Linked DNA regions of Homo sapiens: region 2 is linked to region 1. The links are contacts of gene promoters, found by promoter capture Hi-C in human tissues and cell types (Jung and others, 2019). All regions are on one chromosome and are shown on one strand. The core of a region is centred on a gene start or on the middle of the fragment in contact, and the rest is flanking DNA. Distances in the headings are between cores, read along the strand shown. Region 1 holds the start of ROR2 (receptor tyrosine kinase like orphan receptor 2). Region 2 overlaps ROR2 (receptor tyrosine kinase like orphan receptor 2).

What was found. Contacts are between HindIII fragments. The study calls those that stand out against the background at their distance.
Region 2: a fragment that was not itself captured here is called in contact with the fragment with the promoter of ROR2 in region 1 in 1 of the 25 tissues and cell types used here (spleen).

The regions. Positions count from the first base shown.
Region 1 is chr9:91,948,130-91,952,044 of GRCh38, reverse strand. It overlaps ROR2 (receptor tyrosine kinase like orphan receptor 2), which reads left to right and starts at 1,817. Exons shown (of 9, transcript NM_004560.4): 1 at 1,817-2,178. The coding sequence starts at 2,082. RefSeq lists silencers at 1,244-1,538, 1,652-1,831 and enhancers at 2,025-2,524, 2,525-3,026. The HindIII fragment of the contact is 10,523 bases long and covers 1-3,915 here.
Region 2 is chr9:91,722,708-91,726,713 of GRCh38, reverse strand. ROR2 (receptor tyrosine kinase like orphan receptor 2) reads left to right here. Exons shown (of 9, transcript NM_004560.4): 8 at 1-173; 9 at 1,607-4,006. The coding sequence ends at 3,052. Among named protein-coding and RNA genes, the nearest start is that of MIR3910-2, 88 kb to the right of the region's middle. The HindIII fragment of the contact is 9,202 bases long and covers 1-4,006 here.

The DNA of each region.
Region 1 (3,915 bases), core at 568-3,067:
TTTATCCTTCAGTTCAGAACCTACAGAAAGGGAAGGAGAGAGTGAGAGAGAAATGCCAAAAAAGAAAGCTTTAAAAGGCTTTTAAGAAATCATATGCAATATAACCCACATTTCTGACTCCACCCAAGAAACTGTCAGCAAAATATATGTTGCTGTTTAAACCTTTGAGTTGGGTTTGTGGGGCCTCAGTCATGTGAAAATAACACACAGATGGGGGCATGATGAGGTCATTTTCCTGAAGGTCACACAAAAATAAATGGCAGGGCTGCTGATGAAATGGTTCTGGAGCCACATGCTCACGCTGTGTGAAGTGGAAAGCAAAGGTGCTGGGACCACCTTCTCCGAGCTGCACAGCACCACGGAAAGGACACAGCATTGCTGAGGGAGGGGTTTTCCAGGGCAGGTTCAAGACCCTTCTCTGCAGCCCCTGTTGGGTTTTCCCTAGATCCAGAAGAGAGGGGTGTGGAACTAAGTGCTTCAGCACCTACTCTTAAAACATTACTCTAAAAGCATCCTTAAGGATTCTAAGGGAAGCTAAAGGGAGGAAAACCCCAAAGATAAACCCCTGGCAGTCCTCTAACCACTGGGGAGAGCAGCCCCCCCGTTCAGACCCGCACCAGCCTGGGCAGAGGAACAGCCTGAGCCCGTCTAAGAAGTTTGGTAATAATTTTGCCATCCAGTTGAGGAGGGGCTAGGATCTTCTCCCATTCTCCTACTGGATTTACAGCAGCTCCTGGGAATGAGAACTGCGTGAGATATTTCCCTACACAAATTGGGTAGAGATAGCCGGACGCCTAAATACTTTTAACAGAGGTAACAAGCTAGAGCTGGCTTAGTCATTTTGTCCGCAGACCATAGCAAGAGAGTTTTTATTTCTGGCCACGTCTGAGGCCTCACGTCTGGCACCCAAGGCCAGGGCTCTCCCTAATGCCCTCCAATTAACAGAGCTTGGTACTCCAGCAAAAACACCAAACAAACTGCTGGATAATCAGTTAAAAGATCAATCTCATGGAACAAGCAACTGAGATGCTGGAGAATCCAATTCCTTCCTCTAAGAGGAAAAACAAAGACATTTGCATGTGCTGAGCAAAACCAAGAATAAGCAAGAAAACATGCTATTTGAATTCCGTTCAAAATGTCTCTAATAAGTGAAGCAAATTCTGCACATTCTGGGCCTCTGCAGAGAACAAATAGTGTTCTGCCTTTAATGGGTAAAATTATACAATTTGCTTTTAACAGTAAACCAAAAGCCGCGGTGGCTTCGGATAGCATCGCGCTCCCGAGGGCTCCCTCCACGCAGCTCGACCCCTGGCAGTTTTGAGCATTTCGGGGGACGCGCTTGTCCCCACCGACCTGGGAGGGCGCCGGTGCCAAGGCGGCCTGTTTGTTTTCCTGAACATTTCCTTTTGCAACTTTCGCTTCTCCTCTTCCTGCCTCACCGCTGGTGTCTGGGGCTGGGTGGCTCTCAGATTTGTCCCGGTGCGCAGTGCAGCCTGGAGTTACTGATTTGTGACCTAGATCCCCGGGTGTGTCGCCCCCGAAAGTCGGGGGCACCCGCTCTGGGCGCCTCTCCTGCGTGGGCAGACCCGCCGAACTCCGGCTGACGCCCCCAAGGCGCCACCTTTGTGTTCAAGCGTTCCGAGGCGCAGGCCCGAGGGCGGGCGCAGGAGGCAGGTCCGGGGCCCCAGCTGCAGCCCCAGCTCCTTGGGTCCCGCCCGCCGCCCGCGCGTTCCCCCGGCAGGGGGCGCCGGCGCAAGCCTCGCTCTGCCCATCGGGGCGGGCGAGCGGGGACCCTGCCTCCTGCGCGCTCGCCCGCGGTCCGCCCCCCGCGCTCGTCCTGGCGGCCGGCGGGACGCCCCAGCCCGCGCCAAGGAACCTCCCCAGCCAGCCCTTGCCGTGGCCGGAGCCGAGCGGCGCATCCGGGCCGGAGAAGAGGACGACGACGAGGTCCTCGAAGTGGACCCGTTTGCGAAGCGCCAGGGAGAAGGAGGAGCGGACGCATCGTAGAAAGGGGTGGTGGCGCCCGACCCCGCGCCCCGGCCCGAAGCTCTGAGGGCTTCCCGGCCCCCACTGCCTGCGGCATGGCCCGGGGCTCGGCGCTCCCGCGGCGGCCGCTGCTGTGCATCCCGGCCGTCTGGGCGGCCGCCGCGCTTCTGCTCTCAGTGTCCCGGACTTCAGGTAGGATCTGGCGTTCCGGCTTGTGCGCAGACGGTAGCTCACGGCTCGCTTGGCCAGCCCTTCCGCCGCCACTATGCTCCCGGCCGCTGCGCCGGCGCCCATGCTCCTGAACGAGGGGCGCCAGGCAGGGCCATTCGCATCTCGCCCGACGCCGCTCCCGGCCCGCACCCCGGACCCCCTCGGGCTGGTTACAATAAGCCGCGCTCTGGGGACGCCTAAGTGTTTCCAGAGTCTGGGGGCGGGCGGCGGCGGCTGGGAGCCTCTCGGTGGCGCTTCCCGAGGGTCGCGAGTGGGAGTGCGAGTGTGAATGTGAGTACCCGCCCTGGGCCCGGGACCCGAGTCCGCAGATGTGCCCCGAGGGTCCCAGGACCCGGGCTTCCTCCCCGAGGTCTTCCTCCTTCAAGGGCACACGGCCCCGAGTGTCCCCCGTCTGTCTCGGAGCGTCCCCCCACCCCCAGGGCGGCCTGATGCCTGGCAGAATCCTGGGGTGGACGTGGCCCCGGAGAAGCGGCTCTTGCGGCGGGGGTGGGGGCGCCGGCGGCTCCCGGGTCCTGACTTTCCCAGCCCGCGGGCCGCTTGATGGAAACGGGCTCTTTGGCATCCCTTTTGTTGGTCCCTGAAACCTCCTCTCCCCCACCGCTCTGGGGTGGCCGAAGTGGTGTGTGATCTGGATTGAAATGGTTTGTGACTGGGATCGCGGGTCCCTGAGCGGCTGGGGCGCGGCCGCCTTCTGGCCGCGCCGGGGGGACCCCCGGGACCTGTAGGAGGCTGGCGGCGGGAGGGGCGGGGCCCGGCTCCTAGGTGGGTTTCCTCCCGGGGCCCCACTTCCCCCGAGTCCCTGCGCGGTTTCGGCTGCTTGGATCCGGGGCGCAGAGGAACGGCGGGGAGGTTCGGAAGTGCAGCTTGGGACCTGCCTAGGTTGCCTGGAGGAGGCGGCGTTAGCTCTGGCGGTGCAGACTCCGGGAGCACCTCCCGCCCGCGCGCCTCGGGCCGGATTCTCGGCACCCTGCGGGGGTGGAGGAGGGCGGGCGGGGCCTTCAGGCCCAGGAGCGCCAGAGACCTATGGGGTTCGCCTGAAGCCCCCGGAATGTGTGAGACACTTCTTACTAGTAAATGGGCTTCAGTATCCCCCATCCCTGCACTCCTGCAGGAAGGTGAGAATCGGGACAGTCGCAGGCTGGGAGACGCTCTGCTTTTCCTGCGTCCTGCTGGGAGCTGCGCGCTCCAGGTATCCTGGCCTGCCGCCCTAGCCGGCCCAAGGTACGCGAGTCAGAAAGGCTGCACAGTCTTTCCTGGGGGGGGGTTTTAGTTTAAGCAGATGTTGATTACGTCAGACATTCCTAATTACTTGATTTGGGAAGGGAGCTTGCGTTTATCTCACTGTGCATTAAAGCATAAACCGCTCAGAGTGCACAATAAAATAAGTAGACCACATTCTAAGTTGGTATCCATCACTCAAGACCTCTGTCGATTTCTGCAACCCCTCCCCCAAGAATCTCCCAGGAGATCCCTTTGCTGGGGGAGAGGGGTGGCGGGGAGGCGGCTTAAACACGTTGCTGGACGTGCTGTTGGGCGGCTTTTGCTGTTCACCCTGCGGTTAATTGTCCTACAAAAACTCTGCCTTGCAGACCATGAGGGTTGAGCGCAGCCTTTGAGGGGCGGTGCTGTGGTGGGGGTTTTTAGATGGGTGATGAGGAAAGCATGATGGGTCCATTGCTTAAGCCAAGGTGGTTGTAA
Region 2 (4,006 bases), core at 171-2,670, 220 kb after region 1:
TGTACATCTTGGTCCCCAGCATCGCAATTCCACTGGTCATCGCTTGCCTTTTCTTCTTGGTTTGCATGTGCCGGAATAAGCAGAAGGCATCTGCGTCCACACCGCAGCGGCGACAGCTGATGGCCTCGCCCAGCCAAGACATGGAAATGCCCCTCATTAACCAGCACAAACAGGTCTCCATGCCTTACATTTTCTACCCGGGTGGCTCTTCCAGGTTTAATCCTCAGGGGTTGTTTCCCCCAACATTAAATGTCTTAATTTACTTGATACATAGCACATAATTATTTTAAACTCCGCTTCATTTTGCCATTTTTTTTTTCTGTAAACTAGATCAGGACATGTGTGCTTTAGAAAATAAATGGCAGGCGTGTTGGGAATTCACTGCCCCAGAGTCCATGGGCCTCCTTCTGCCTGGACCATGCTGCCCCTGTGGGCCCCAGCGAGTGTCCTCACTGTCCAGGTGCCTCAGCTCTGCCCAGAAGACACACAAGAACAACAGGGCTCCAATGCTCCCCATAATTTTTCTTGACACTTTTGGGTTGGGTTGGTTTTGCTTTGTTTTGTTTACAGGGAAGGATAGGAGAATAGCTCTTAAATGGGAGTAGGTGGACAGGCTACCACTAAAAGGCCACCCCTCATCCCAGAGCAGCCTTAGATGGGGGTGGGGCACTGAAATACAACAGATGAGAACATGTGCTGCAGCCTCTCCAGGTTGTGTTGTAAAAGGGCATTTACACTCATTGCAAGCCGTAGGTAACATCATTCTCAGCCAGCTTTGCAGGGGCTCTTCAAGGTGGCCAGGAGGGAGCTGATGCACTTGGCTCTTCAGTCCCAGAGTCGGTGAGAGTTTGCTATGGGCAGGGGCTGGCCAGCGAGGAGGGCACAGAGCCCCGGGGCTTGCACGGAGGCCCAGGAACCTCTGGGGAGGATGAGGGCTGGCCACACGGGAGGAGCTGGTGTCATAGAGGCCGAGAGAGATGCAGGGTTCTCAGGGCTCCTATCACCTGTGGGGTACTCTTTCCAGGAACATGTTTAACAGAGACCCTAGTCAAGAGGCCCATGGACAGGCCCATTGAGGGAACCTCTGTAGAACAACTGGCTTGGACTCTTATAAGTGACAAAATTGCCAAGACAAAAATGTCGTGGGAAAGCCTCTGTGGGGTCCATGAGAAAAAGACATCACATCTCACGTGATGTGTCGGCACACATGGGGGTTGGAGGGAACCTGGCAGGGTATGTCCGGGGCAGCCCCAGGGCAGCTGGTGCCTGGGCCTGGCTGTAGGGTGTGTGTGTGTGTCCACACATGCACAAGTGGGAAGGAAGTCAGTGTGTCCCAGCTGGATTTTGGAGGGACCTTATTTGTAGCCTGGTTGGGATCTGTGGAAGATTGCAGATGGGAAGCAACCTTGGCATCAGAGCCGTATTTAAGGTTAACTAGAGAGCTGTGGGTGGGCAGGCCAAGGCTGGGTGGGCAAAACCAGCGGGTCTTCTGCAAGGCCCCCCTAGTCGTGGCCGCACAGGGACTCCACTCCTCCCGGCTGCTCTGCAGCTTCCTCCAGGGCTGCGGTGACAGTGATGTTTCACGTGGGGCTTTTCTTCTTGACAGGCCAAACTCAAAGAGATCAGCCTGTCTGCGGTGAGGTTCATGGAGGAGCTGGGAGAGGACCGGTTTGGGAAAGTCTACAAAGGTCACCTGTTCGGCCCTGCCCCGGGGGAGCAGACCCAGGCTGTGGCCATCAAAACGCTGAAGGACAAAGCGGAGGGGCCCCTGCGGGAGGAGTTCCGGCATGAGGCTATGCTGCGAGCACGGCTGCAACACCCCAACGTCGTCTGCCTGCTGGGCGTGGTGACCAAGGACCAGCCCCTGAGCATGATCTTCAGCTACTGTTCGCACGGCGACCTCCACGAATTCCTGGTCATGCGCTCGCCGCACTCGGACGTGGGCAGCACCGATGATGACCGCACGGTGAAGTCCGCCCTGGAGCCCCCCGACTTCGTGCACCTTGTGGCACAGATCGCGGCGGGGATGGAGTACCTATCCAGCCACCACGTGGTTCACAAGGACCTGGCCACCCGCAATGTGCTAGTGTACGACAAGCTGAACGTGAAGATCTCAGACTTGGGCCTCTTCCGAGAGGTGTATGCCGCCGATTACTACAAGCTGCTGGGGAACTCGCTGCTGCCTATCCGCTGGATGGCCCCAGAGGCCATCATGTACGGCAAGTTCTCCATCGACTCAGACATCTGGTCCTACGGTGTGGTCCTGTGGGAGGTCTTCAGCTACGGCCTGCAGCCCTACTGCGGGTACTCCAACCAGGATGTGGTGGAGATGATCCGGAACCGGCAGGTGCTGCCTTGCCCCGATGACTGTCCCGCCTGGGTGTATGCCCTCATGATCGAGTGCTGGAACGAGTTCCCCAGCCGGCGGCCCCGCTTCAAGGACATCCACAGCCGGCTCCGAGCCTGGGGCAACCTTTCCAACTACAACAGCTCGGCGCAGACCTCGGGGGCCAGCAACACCACGCAGACCAGCTCCCTGAGCACCAGCCCAGTGAGCAATGTGAGCAACGCCCGCTACGTGGGGCCCAAGCAGAAGGCCCCGCCCTTCCCACAGCCCCAGTTCATCCCCATGAAGGGCCAGATCAGACCCATGGTGCCCCCGCCGCAGCTCTACGTCCCCGTCAACGGCTACCAGCCGGTGCCGGCCTATGGGGCCTACCTGCCCAACTTCTACCCGGTGCAGATCCCAATGCAGATGGCCCCGCAGCAGGTGCCTCCTCAGATGGTCCCCAAGCCCAGCTCACACCACAGTGGCAGTGGCTCCACCAGCACAGGCTACGTCACCACGGCCCCCTCCAACACATCCATGGCAGACAGGGCAGCCCTGCTCTCAGAGGGCGCTGATGACACACAGAACGCCCCAGAAGATGGGGCCCAGAGCACCGTGCAGGAAGCAGAGGAGGAGGAGGAAGGCTCTGTCCCAGAGACTGAGCTGCTGGGGGACTGTGACACTCTGCAGGTGGACGAGGCCCAAGTCCAGCTGGAAGCTTGAGTGGCACCAGGGCCCGGGGTTCGGGGATAGAAGCCCCGCCGAGACCCCACAGGGACCTCAGTCACCTTTGAGAAGACACCATACTCAGCAATCACAAGAGCCCGCCGGCCAGTGGGCTTGTTTGCAGACTGGGTGAGGTGGAGCCCTGCTCCTCTCTGTCCTCTGACACAGAGAGCTGCCCTGCCTAGGAGCACCCAAGCCAGGCAGGGGGTCTGGCAGCACGGCGTCCTGGGGAGCAGGACACATGGTCATCCCCAGGGCTGTATACATTGATTCTGGTGGTAGACTGGTAGTGAGCAGCAAATGCCTTTCAAGAAAATAGGTGGCAGCTTCACTCCATGTCATATATGGAGTGAATATTTCAAAACGTTGGGAATAAGGGCCTGCAAAAGGCAGCGAGGAGGCACCTCGGGTCTTGAGGTTCCTGACAACCGATCTGGTCTGTTGGTTTGAGGATGAAGGGGCTCCATTTCTGCTGCCTCCCTGCTGAGAATATTCTCCCTTTAGCAGCCAAAGATTCGCTGGAACGGAGGCTGCCCTCTGCTGCCTGTTGGGGTCGGAAGACAAGGGGCTTCTGAAATGGGAGTTCCTGAGATACAACAAAATGTGTGCCTTCAAAGAAACTGACAGCTTTGTATTTGGTGAAATGGTTTTAATTATACTCCATGTGTATTTTGCCCACTTTTTTTGGGAATTCAAGGGAAAGTGTTTCTTGGGTTTGGAATGTTCAGAGGAAGCAGTATTGTACAGAACACGGTATTGTTATTTTTGTTAAGAATCATGTACAGAGCTTAAATGTAATTTATATGTTTTTAATATGCCATTTTCATTGAAGTATTTTGGTCTTAAGATGACTTTAGTAATTTAACTGTTTATGTTACCCACGTTGGGATCCAGTTGGTCTTGGTTTGCTTCTCTCTGTACCACGTGCACATGAGGTCCATTCATTTTACA